Regions from separate parts of the Homo sapiens genome. Here region 1 is linked to region 2. Evidence: promoter capture Hi-C in 16 types of primary human blood cells and fetal thymus (Javierre and others, 2016). All regions are on one chromosome and are shown on one strand. The core of a region is centred on a gene start or on the middle of the fragment in contact, and the rest is flanking DNA. Distances in the headings are between cores, read along the strand shown. Region 1 holds the start of MARCO (macrophage receptor with collagenous structure). Region 2 holds the start of C1QL2 (complement C1q like 2).

The links. The method cuts DNA at HindIII sites, captures the fragments that hold promoters and counts their contacts. A CHiCAGO score of 5 or more calls a contact.
Region 1: a contact is called between the fragment with the promoter of MARCO here and the fragment with the promoter of C1QL2 in region 2, in 2 of 17 cell types (M1 macrophages and M0 macrophages). The highest score is 5.6, in M1 macrophages.

Annotation. Positions count from the first base shown.
Region 1 is chr2:118,940,547-118,946,808 of GRCh38, forward strand. MARCO (macrophage receptor with collagenous structure) reads left to right here and starts at 1,648. Exons shown (of 17, transcript NM_006770.4): 1 at 1,648-1,851. The coding sequence starts at 1,755. The HindIII fragment of the contact is 9,171 bases long and covers 1-1,745 here.
Region 2 is chr2:119,154,418-119,160,548 of GRCh38, forward strand. It overlaps C1QL2 (complement C1q like 2), which reads right to left and starts at 4,334. Exons shown (of 2, transcript NM_182528.4): 1 at 3,169-4,334; 2 at 1,826-2,564. The coding sequence starts at 3,852. The coding sequence ends at 2,385. RefSeq lists an enhancer at 2,702-3,512. The HindIII fragment of the contact is 3,837 bases long and covers 2,777-6,131 here.

The DNA of each region.
Region 1 (6,262 bases), core at 398-2,897, 220 kb before region 2:
ATTATCTGGTCCTGTCTACCCCCCAGACTCTAGCTGGAGCCATCACTTCCTCATTTCCAATTTTCCTCTTTAAATTTTTCTGTCCTGGCTTCTGCTGCTTGTCCTCTGGCGGAACCAGTGACTTCCTGAATGTTGAAATTGTGGGCGCCACGGGGGACCTCTGCTTTTCAGGGCACTGCTAGGAGCTCACTTTCCTGAGTTTCATCCCCTTTCACTTTCTGACATACCACGGGCCAAAGAAAGTGACTTCGCCTGGCACAGCTTCACTTCCTGCCACCTGTCTTCCTCACCTCTTACATTTCAAATAGGCCAAAAGTCTACGGCTCCCCTGCTCCAGGCTGTCCCACCTCTGAGAGGCTGCACCTGCCCTCCTTCCTCCCTGGAGGGCCTTTGCCTCATCTTGATCTGGATCAATCCCCCATTATCCTTTTAAGCCCAGCTCTGGTATCTGATATCTCTTGATTCAGATGATAAAGCTATTTGTCATATTTCTGCCCTGTCTCCCCTGCCTCCCGGCACTTCTGTCTTTTCAGGGACATCAACCTTTGCCGCACTTCACAGCAATTTTCTGGAATGTAGTTGTAGCCGCAACCATCTTGCATGGTAGACTGTGAATATCTTTCATGAAAAAAGGCCATTTCTTCATCTCCTCGGTGCCCAGCAGGCTCACAATGTCTCTAATGATAATAACAACAACATGACCATAGTGTTTATTACCTAATACTTCCATCCTAGCCACCTTATATGATTTAATTCATTTAAGGCTCACGAAATTCATATCTTCCTTATTTATACAAACAGAAGAGTGAGATGCTCAAAGCTCAAGTGATTTGCCTACTGCCAGACAGCCCCTATGTGGAAGAGGTGGAATTTGAAGCCAGGCATTCTAGCTCTTAGTGTCTGTGTCTTAACCACCATGCTATACAGCATCCCTGGTAGAGATGCCTGACGGGAGGGAGAGAGGGGAGAAGCTACTTTCCTTAAGGAGCTCAGATCTCACTGGGGCCTGGACAAGGACACCTGTAACACATGTACACATGTGCACACATGTGTACACACACAGAGAGAGAACATGGGAAAACTACAAGAAGAAATACTAAGTGCTAAAATGTGTGGTTCAGAGCAAGGCTTCTCAAACTGTAATGTGTATATAAATCACCTGGGGATCTAGTTAAACTGTAGATTTGGATTTGATCTGATGGGGTGGGACCAGAGACTCATTGTTAGAACAAGTGAACTTGCATTTCTAACAAGTTCTCAGGTGATACTAATACTGCTGGTCCATGGACCACACTTTGAGCAGCAAGGATGAACTCTAAAGGTTGAGGCAGGTCAGAGAAGGGAGATTTCACTGTGGGCTGGAGAGGTCCTGGGACAGAGAGCTGAGTCTGGGCCCATGGCAGGGCTTGGTTGGCCCTCTCTGGAGCCATCCAGCTTTTGGGTCTCAGGGACCTGGGAGTGACGGGTGCATTCAGAGGCCCGTAACTTGTGTCCCAAAGCCTCCTCGATCCCCCTTAACAAGCAGCAGCACTGTGTGGGAGATCCACATGTGAATAGCCCGTGTTTGAGAAATGTCCAATCCTGATCATGTCAGGAAACATCCTGCAAATTCTGAAATCAGAGCCAAAGGGAAGTGCTGCGAGGTTTACAACCAGCTGCAGTGGTTCGATGGGAAGGATCTTTCTCCAAGTGGTTCCTCTTGAGGGGAGCATTTCTGCTGGCTCCAGGACTTTGGCCATCTATAAAGCTTGGCAATGAGAAATAAGAAAATTCTCAAGGAGGACGAGCTCTTGAGTGAGACCCAACAAGCTGCTTTTCACCAAATTGCAATGGAGCCTTTCGAAATCAATGGTAAAGTACGATTCCCCAATAATGGAAATGACCAGAAATGTAGTCTTTCTGCTAGCGAGATACGAAAATAGACAAGTCAATAGAAAGTCTAGGTTTGGCTTATTGCTGCATTTTGCACGTAATCATCACTAATACTGTCTGGAGTGCTTCAATTTGGAATTTCTGGAATGCTAATAATAGATGCTGTATTTTTAGCATATAGTCAGGTTTTTCTTAGCTTCACTATTGTTTTAATCATATTTAAATATTTTCCCTTGAAAAAATGCCAATGCTTATTAAATGTCCCCTTTTTTTAATGAATGTCTTATTCTGACACACAGGTTGGGTGATACAATGAAAACGCAAAACAGGGGCACTGAAAGGGGACCACAAAACTGAAGCCAAGCATGACAGTTTTCAAAACACAGCTTCTTTAAAATTCTTTAAGGGGATTTCTGTTATAACTGATGTGCTGGTCAGGAAACATATTCTGTATTTCATGTTGACTGAAATATGTTCATAGCTTCATAATTAGTTTGTCTTAGGTTAAACTCAGGTCTGTAATATTCAGTCAACTCTGTTGTCTTTATTTTCTCACTCAGCATTCAACAGGTGATGCATTTTTAAAATCTTCTAGAATTTGTAGCATTTGAAGTCATGGGTGGGCTTGCATTCCACAAATGAGCTCTGATTTCCTAGTCTAGAACGTTCTCTTGGGATCATCTTCCAAGTTGATCAGTCATTTCCACTCCCAGGCTTTGCTGGAAGTTGTCTATGCAGGAAAATTGGTGGCTTTATCTCCTGGCCAGAGTGTCCTTCTCATCCCACACCTGTCTGCCCAGGTCCCTGCCTGGAATTTTCAGCGCACAAAGATGAAGCGTCTGGGGCTCTGCCTCTAGGAATTTACAGTGTAATAACAGAGAAAGGTGTGAGTGCTAATGGCTATAATAATCATTGGCTATTTAGAACTTCTCAGAATGCAACATTCTGGATACATGACTGTTTAAGAGACTGAAGATGTTCAAGCAAAGTCAGCTGATCAAGCATACTCAGCACCTATTTCCAGCAGGGCACTGCACTCAGCACTGAGGAAACAGGCTTGAATAAACATAGCCTCTGGCCTCTGGCTTCTGGCACGAGGGGACAGGGGACAGGGTAAGCTGCCCATGAACTGACAATTTCCATGTTGTGACTGAGACTTCCACAGGACATGATGGACAGATCTAACCAGGTGTAGAGCCCTGGAGGGCAGAGCTGACACCTCTTCCAAAGTTTAAAGGATAAAGGGAGTCCGTTAGAGAAAGAAGTTAGTGCCTGGGGCGGGGTGGGCGCCACATGTTTGTATTGTATTCACAAGAAATATTCAGAGAAATATAAATACTTCCATACTGTTTGGCCAAAATTGGGACGGAAAGACCAGTGGGGACTGAGGCTGGAACCAAAAAATTTGACTTCATCCTGAGGTCAGTGGGGAAGCAGGAAGGGGCCGATGTGGGGCTGAAAGGCACTAATGTGCATGTGAGGTTGCTCTTTGTCCTACATAGGGATGGCTGGAGAGAGAAGCTGAGGACAGAGAGGAACTTGGCAGCAAGAGATGATGAGGGGCAGTGGATGGAAGGCAGGAAAATAAAGGAATGCTCTGGAGAAACACCGGAAATCAGATCAATTGGACTGCAATGGCAGGACAGGGCTGGGGAGGAAGACGCAGGAGTTAATAGTGAACCCTAGATTTCTGACCTGGGTTGTGTGTGTCACCAATTAAAAATGTAACTAAGCCAGTGCAGGAGGATTCCTTGAGCCCAGGAATTTGAGACCAACCTGGGCAACATAGTGAGACCCTATCTCCACCAATAAATAAATAAATAAAATGTTTAAAGTATCTCACCAAAAAACCAAAACTACTCCAATTTGGATGAAAGAAACATTTTCTTATATGCATTCACAACATCCTGCCTTCTAATACAAAGATTGTGGAACATATGAAACTTTCTAGAAGAGTGCCATTATGCAGGTAATCACTGTGAGGCTCTGGTAACACAGTGACCCCTCAGGGCCGGCTCTGCACATTACTTATTTTTTGTCTGCTGAAGATTTATTTATTTAGGCCATATATAGTTTTATTTTCTTTTGAAAATACATTATCTTAAAATTCCCACATATGGTTCATGAAAAACAGCACTGAAAAATATTTCTAATGTCATTTTCCTCATTTATTTTTCTCTATTGTTGGTATTGAAATATAAAATGCTGTTTTTCCCTGATTATAAAGTATTAAACTAGTTTTTTTTTATTATTATTACCCAAGGATACTGGACTAGGAAAGTTTTCAACACATGCTGAAGAAAATTTTAGAAGTGAGTTTGGGAAACTTTTGGAATATAACCTTCATTTTTTCTAAAATTAATCTTAAAAAAAGGATGAGGAGTGTAAATTTCACACTGTACCCTCTAGAAGCACAGTGCAACTTGCATCCCTCTTTCCTGCCATCACCTCCAGCCTCCCTCATTAGAACAAGCCTCCTTCATTCCATTATCTGCACTAGAATTAAGGTACTCTTTCTTTTCTTTATTTTTTATTCTAGCTTTTTAGGAGTGTGATTAACAATACAAACTGTATATATTTATGATGTACACGTGATGATTTGATATATGTATCCATGGATGAATAACCACCACAAAGACTGCTTTAGTTTCCTGAGGGGACTTGACATAGGGTTGGCTTCTGTGGCCCTCAGGGTCTCACAGAATCCCAGGTCTCTCCTCAGAGCCATAGAAACTGCTCTTTTGCCCCATCATCCACCTCAACAATGGAACATTTGGGCTTGAACGAGAGGATTTACCTGTTGGCAATATCTTTCTGGGATGTGTCTGTTTCTACCTTTTTGAAAATTAGCAATCTGTGTCTGGCTTTAGGCTTCCTGTCACACTCCTGGCCGTCTGGTTTCTCAAGGAAGACTACTGTTACCACAGCCTAACAAGACAAGCACTTGTTAGGCTGTGCAATGTGATCTGTCGGAACCTCTTGTTTCTTTTTTTTTTTTTTTTTTTCTTTTTTGAGATGGAGTCTCGCTCTGTCACCCATGCTGGAGTGCAGGGGAGCGATCTCGGCTCAGTGCAACCTCCATCTCCCGGGTTCAAGTGATTCTCCTGACTCAGTCTCCCTAGTAGCTGGGATTACAGGTGCCCACCACCATGCCCGGCTAACTTTTATATTTTTAGTAGAGACGGGGTTTCACCATGTTGGCCAAGCTGGTGTCCAACTCCTGACCTCAAGTGATCCGCCCCCCTTGGCCTCCCAAAGTGCTGGAATTACAGGCATGAGCCACCTACCTGGCCCTGTTGGGACCTCTTACTCCAATCTCTCAACTACTTCAGGCTTCCCACCAACTTCAGTCTGAAGAACATTCTTCTTGAGAGAGAAGTTTGAAACAAAATACAGGTAGAAAAGTTAGGGTTTTTATTGTTGTTTGTTTTAATTAACACTAACTATTGTCTCTCAGTAGTGAGCCTAACCATCCTTTCTTCCCACCCTTAACATACTCTAGAGCAACCTTCAACAAAACCCAAACCCTCAAGTCCGTTCAGGCTCAGTCTTGCAACACGACTGCTATTATTTCATGTCATTGTTCTGACTTTGCTCTTCATCATGCCAATATTTCTCAACATCTTTTAAACATCTGGCTTTATTGCAGAGTTTAGTCTTAACTTTTTATGGTGAAGTAGTTATAGAGTCAGAGAAAATTGCAAAAAATGTACAGAGAAGCTTTTCTGACTCTTGTCTCATTCTCCCCCAGTGGTAACATCTTACACTGCATTAATACAAAATTACAACCAGGAAACTGATATTGGTGCAATCCATAGAGCTTATTCATTAGTTTTACATGCACTCGTCTCTGTGTACATATATAGTTGTACCAATTCTATGCTTAAATAACCCCACATACCCCTCACTCCCCCACCAGCAGTCATCAACCCCTGGCAACCACTAATCTGCTTCCCATCTCTATAATTTTGCCATTTTGGGAATGTTACATAAAGAAATTACACAGTATGTGACTTCTTTAAGATTGATTTTTTTTTCACATAGTGTAATTCCTTTGAAACCCATCCAAGTTGTATCCATCCATAGTTGGCTCTTCTTATTGAGTAGCATTCCATGATATGAATATATCAAAGATTGTTTAACATTCACCCACTGAAGGACATTTGGGTTGTTTTCAGTTTGGGGGCTATTACAAATAAAGTTGCCATGACCATTTCTGTAAGTGTTTTGTGTGACTTTAAGTTCTCATTTCTCCAAGGTAAATGTCCAAAAGTGTAATTGCTGGATTCTAAGTGTGTTTGGTTTTACAAGAAGTAGTCGATATATTTTCCAGTGTGACTATACCATTTTACATTCCCAGCAGCAATGTACAACTGATCCAGTTTTCTGC
Region 2 (6,131 bases), core at 3,084-5,583:
TTGTTAGAAGTACAAATTGCTTCTTAATGCAGAGGATAAAGCTGGGTTCAGGCACCTCCTTAGAAATTCCTCCTGCTCCCAGGAAAGCCACCACTGCATGTCAATTTTAATTTTTGAAATTTAAACCAAGGGCTTTGTGTCTAAGCTCCATCTCATCGGAGGAAGGGGAGGAATAAGTCAAAAAGGATTAGGTGCCCGCTGGGGATTGCAGATCCATAGCAATTAGACTTCATTTGGGTCTCAGACATTTGGTTTTAATCACATTTCTGGATGACACAATCAACAAAGCATCAGAAATTGATACCTATGCAACTGTAGATGGGCCTGACTCTGCCCTTCCCAGTTCCTGGGCTCAGCTGGGTTAGGGATCCACAATCAGCAGGAGTGGGGTGGGGTGGGGAATTGGGGTTGGGATTACTAGGTCTGGAACTGGGGGAGGGGATGGCAGTATGTATATATGTGTTTCCTCCCATTCTCTTTGAGTACTTTATCCCTGGACTCAAAGCAGACATAATCATTGCTCATATTGAAAAGAATGACAATAAAACATTATTCAAACAAAATAAGAGCAAAAAGGAATAGCGACAGCAACAGGACTCAAGGCAGGGGGTATAGTTGTCTTTTAAATGGGAATCACAGCTTTCAGCATTCTCCAGGAACTAAAGTCGAGCACAAAGCAATTTGGGGCCAGAAATGCAGCATGAACATTGTCACACACCACACTGACATGGACTTATGAATATAAGTGTGTGTACATGTGTAATGTGGATTACGTGAGGACAATCACAACATCACATCCACATAGGAGATACACACACACACACACAATCTCCAGCTTTACACAGATACACACACCCTGGGGTTGCCTTTTTGTGTATACTCACACATTTCTTTTCACACAACCCGTAAAAGTGACCTCAGTAAGCACTAACAGGTTGCTGGGAGCTGACTGGTTATTTTGTACATAACTTTGTTGTAACTCAGTGATCTGACAACAAAAAAAAAGTAAAAAGAAAAAAATCAAAACCATGCGGGGTGTTTTCCTAACTTGTGTGTGTGTAGAATGCTGATGGGACACCAAACACACACACTCAGGTTCAGAGCAGGCACCCCAAATCGCATGCATAAGGGAAGGGAAGCCCGCAGGAAAGAGGCGTCCCTCCCCAAGGAATGGTGTCCACCTCAACACACAGCCCTGAGGAAGTTCAGCAAGCTGGATGATCCGCGGAATTGCCTCAGTTTACCAGCTCTCCGGAGAGCGGTGGCCCTGGCGGCTGTGAGTAAACAGGCCTGTGCTTAGTGAACCATCCGCTCGAGCGGGTGTGTGTCTGCTAGGGACTTCTGCACTTCCTTTTAGGAGCCAAACATCCTACAGATCCCTCCCCGGCAAGTGTCACTCACGCCTCCCATTTCCCATAGATGCCTTCTCTTCCCCTTCCTTCCCCAGAAGCCCCTCCCCTCTGACCTCCACCCACAACTCCGGGAGGACTAAGTTGCCCAAGTTGCCCAAGACTGGAGACCCAATCATTCCTCTCCTGCTTTCCTCTAACTCTCCCTGATGCCTTTCCCCGCCTCCTCCCCTCCTCCCAACCCCACCTCCGGCCTCTCCAGCTCAGGGCTGCAGCCTGGGGAGAGCTTCTGGGAAGGGTGGGATGCAGCTCCCATTTACCCCATGTCTTTTCGGCAACTTCTGGTGGCAGGGACATAGCAGCGGCTGGGGAGCAGGTCATAGATGGGCCTATCCTGGGCCCAGGTAAGGTCTTTATGCCAAGGCGGACATCTGGAGCCCTGGTCCAGGATGTGTCGACATACAGACAACAGAACGCATAGTCTAAAAACATAATTTAATGCATCGCGGTGAGTCTGAGTCAGGAGGGAATGCGGTGTGGAGAGGTGAATTTTCTGTTTGCTGGAATTCTGCTGTGGGTGGGGTTTTGGCTGATGGACAGGGAAATCTGCACAAGTATTTCGGGTCACAAAGAAGGACGCCCCAGGAAGCCCGCGCTCCCTCTGGCCTACCTCCCTGGCCAGGGCCCGGAGCCCTCCGCTTCTAGGCACTGGGAGGAGGCTGTCTGAGGAGGGCAGGCTCCCGGCCCTGCCTGTCCAGTCTAATCAGGTTTGCAAAGTCTGTGCCGCCGCCTCAAGGGCTCGGGCGTCCCTTCCTCCCTTGCCGGGATGGGGATGGAGACCAGGAGCACAGCCCTGAGCGTGGTGGGTCGCAGACGCACTGAGGCCAGGAGCGGGGCAGGGAGGACGCAGGGATTTGTCTTTTCCAAAGGAGATGTCAGGAAGTGTTATGAATCGAGAGTGGCCTTTGCCAAGGAGCCGCGCCCGGGCGGAGACCGGGCGGCCTGCAGCCACCCCGCCTCGCACCCCCCGCGCCCCTAATCCGGGTACAGAAGAAAGCCCGAGAACGTGCTGTACTTGTTATTATTGCCTCCGTGAGCCTTCCCGCCATCCAGCTTCACATACACTTCGTCCCCTGAATCCAAGTGCAGCACCACGCTGTTACTGGCGTAGTCGTAGTTCTGGTCGGCGTCCTGTGCAATGGCGCTGGCCCGGACCTGGGGACAAGCGGTGGGAGCAGGTGAGCCGGGGCACCTCTTCCCGCGCCTTTGCTCAGCCCACACCAGGCGCGCCACTCACGGGCCTCCCGCCTGCTGCTTCAGGGTCCACACTCCCACCCCAGCTCCATGTTCTCTCTCCAACTTAGTCAACTCCTTCCAGGTCCCCCCTCCTCCTCGCGCCGACGAGTCTGGGAAATAGGGAGAGGGGAAGCTTCATGAACACTGACCCAGAGTGGAAGGGTGGGAGCCAGGGGCCAGGGCCAAGAGGAAAGGAGGCTGCAGGGCAAGGGGGCGACCTGGAGAGAACTAAAGAACTGAGGTTTCCGAGAAGCCCACGGAGAGGCAGGCAGGGACGCAAGTGGCCAAGGAGTGTAGTTTAGGTATGGGGGTCTCTGGGCTCTCAAGGCCCAACATTTGGCTCTACGTCCCGGTGAGCGCGGCCTCGGCGCATCGGGAAGCGGAGATACTGTGGCACCGAGGCGCGTTCATTCCCGGGGCTCGCAGGGTAGCCCGCGGGTGGAGAGAAAGGAGGCTGGTTCCCTGGGAGGTTCAGGGCGCGGGCGAGGGTTTACGGGGGCCGGTGAGTGTAGGGGTCACTGACCTGCCCGTTCTTGCAGAGGTCCGCCCACATGCTGGTGCCGTCGCCGCCGCGCATGAGGATGTGGTAGGTGAAGAAGTAGATGCCGCGTACCTGGCAGCTGAACTTGCCCGTGGTGGGGTCATAGTGATTGCCGAGGTTGGTGACCACGTCATCGAACTTCAGCACCTCATAGCCTTCGTGGGGGCTCTTGAGACCCACATAGAAGGCGATCTTGGGGCCGCTGAAGGTGGCGCTCAGCGCACTGGTCACTTCACCCTCGGAATCGCCACCTACCCCGGCCCCGCCGCCCACCACCCCGACGCCGCTGGCCGTGCCCGCCGTCAGTTGCAGCCCTGGCAGCCCGGGCCGCCCCGAGTCGCCCTTCTCTCCCGGAGGGCCCCTGGGTCCAGGCGGGCCCGGCTCTCCAGGGGGCCCCCGCGGCCCTGGCTTGCCCGGTCGCCCCGGGTCGCCCTTGGGTCCCTGGATGAAAGGAGGAGGAGGGTTGGCGCTGAGGTCCTGCATGACTTCCAGGGCGGCGGTGCTGGGTCCGGGTGGCTGCGCCTTTGCACCCGGGGGCTCCCCGCCGGGCGCGGCAGTGTAAGGGTCGCAGATCATGCGGCAGGTGCCCATCATCTCATAGTGCGCGGCGCCTCGGGGCGCCGCCTGCAGCAGCAGCGGCACGGCGATGAGCAGCCCGAGCGCCATGGCCAAGAGTACGCCGACGGCCGCCAGGCAGGCACGCCGCCGCCGCTGCCACAGCCGGGAGGCGACCGCCACCAGCTCCTCCTTGCCGCCCGGGGAGGTAATGGTGGGGCGGCGCGGGCGGCCCCGCTCCCCGCGCTCGGGGACCGGCTCCGCGGGTCCTGGCCGCGCCCCCGACGTGGCGACCCCCAGCCCCGGCTACCCAACTACTTCAGCGAGAGGCGCCGGGACCTCTGAGCCTGGGCCCACCGCGCTGGGGCTGGTCGGGAGAGCCGCGGACGCCCGCGCGCATGACGTGGGGCACACAAGACGAATCCGGCGCCCCGAGGGTCCGGCGCCGGCCAGGGAGTGCTTGCGCTGGCCGGGGAGTCTGCTTGCGGCGTCCGGCGCTGGCTCCGCGGCGCTGCCTCCCGCCAGGCTCCGCTCCGCTGGGTTTAGTGGGGCTCCTAGCGCAGTGAGGGCGCCCCGGCTCCGCGGCGCGCTCTGCTGTGCTCTCTCGCTGTTCGCTGGCTCCCGCGCGGAGGGGGGACCCCGCTACCCTGACGTAAGGAGTCCGGGGCTGAGCGGCGGAGGCGGCGAAGCAGCGCGCGCTGCCATCACTCGGGAGACGGAGCCCTCATGTCATCAGCCTCCTATCTGGCGGCGTCCTCGGCAGAGGCGGTGAAGGCGCGGTTCCCCCTGGCGGCTCCCAGGAGCCACAAGTGGGCGCAGCGGGCGCGGTCCCAAGCCGGGGCACATCGGACACACCCACCCGCGGCCACACTCACGCGCCCCCCACCGATAACACACACAGACACCCACGCACGCAGTGGCGGGGCACGCACAGCCACCCCCACATGGCCACGAAAGCAGCTGGAATCCAGGTGTCAGCAGGGCTCCTCTGGGGTCACCTAATCCATCCCCTGGCCTGCAAAGAGGATCAAACCTCAACCCACCGAGTCCAGGAGAGTCCCGTGAGGTCCAGCGGGAAGGAGTTTCTGAAAGACCTCCTGAGTTATTTCTTCAGAATTGAATAGATCTCGCTTCTGGAAGATCTTTCGCAAACCTAGACTAAGGACTCCAGACTCTTAAACAGGCTCCCGTAGAGCACCCCACTAACCTCTGAGGTGACTCTAAAAAGCCCAAGGCTCCCAATACAAGAATATTTGCGGCCGGGCGCAGTGGCTCACGCCTGTGATCCCAACACTTTGGGAGGCCGAAGCGGGCAGATCACCTGAGGTTGGGAGTTTGAGACCAGCCTGACCAACATGATGAAACCCCGTCTGTACTAAAAACACAAAATTAACTGGGCATGGTGGTGCATGCCCGTAATCCCAGCTACGCGGAAGGCTGAGGCAGGAGAGTCGCTTGAACCAGAGAGGCAGAGGTTGCGGTGAGGCGGGATCGTGCCATTGCACTCCAGCCTGGGCAACAAAAGCAAAAGTCCATCTCAAAAAAAAAAAAAAAAAAAAGGAATATTCGCCTCAGACCTTTTCTTCCACCAGAAAATGGCTGGCCCTTGTCCTCTGCGTGAAGCTGGTGTAGAAACCAAATGCTTGATGCCGGCACTTGGCAGTGATCATGGTGCACTCAGCTTCTACTCCAAGCCCGGCCACTGCCAGGCAGATGCATGGGCACATTCCCTTGGACATCCCCAGCTTCCTCCTCCTGAGATGGGTTTAGTTATTTTAGAAAATAGTCCAAATAGTCCAAAGCCATTCTGAGCCAGTCTTGAATAAACCATGGCCTCAGATGAGAGCAGAATAGTCTATCTCCAATGTAGCATGTGAGGCTAAGGAAGGATGAGAGGCCCGCCGGTGTGGGAGAGACTTCCAGCGGAGAAATCAAAGCCCCAGCTTCTGCTCTTGCCCTGAGTAGCTGTGTGATTTTGCCAGGTGGTTCCTGTCCCTGAGACTCAGTTTCCTTAAAAGGCCGCCTCCTGCCCTAGCACCCCCAACATGGGAATCACACCAGGCCTGTCCTGGGGGGAGAATCTAAGGGCTGGTGTCAGTGTTTGGTGTAGCATCAGCATCTCTGGAACAACAGTGCACCCACCTAAGGCTATTGCTTTGAAGCTAACTCTCATTTGTCCTGCACTAGGTTCTTACGGGTTAATTAAAATCTATTTTTGTCCTCTGATCACCCTGGGTCATTTCCCCACTCCCAACCTCGTTGCTCTAGCCTGTTCTCTCCACATATATTTGTGGAAAGGATGACTGAGCCTAGCCGGAAGCCAACTTTACCAAGGAGAGAAGGAGCACATTTATTGGCACCTACTACGTATGCATCAGGCACTTTGCACG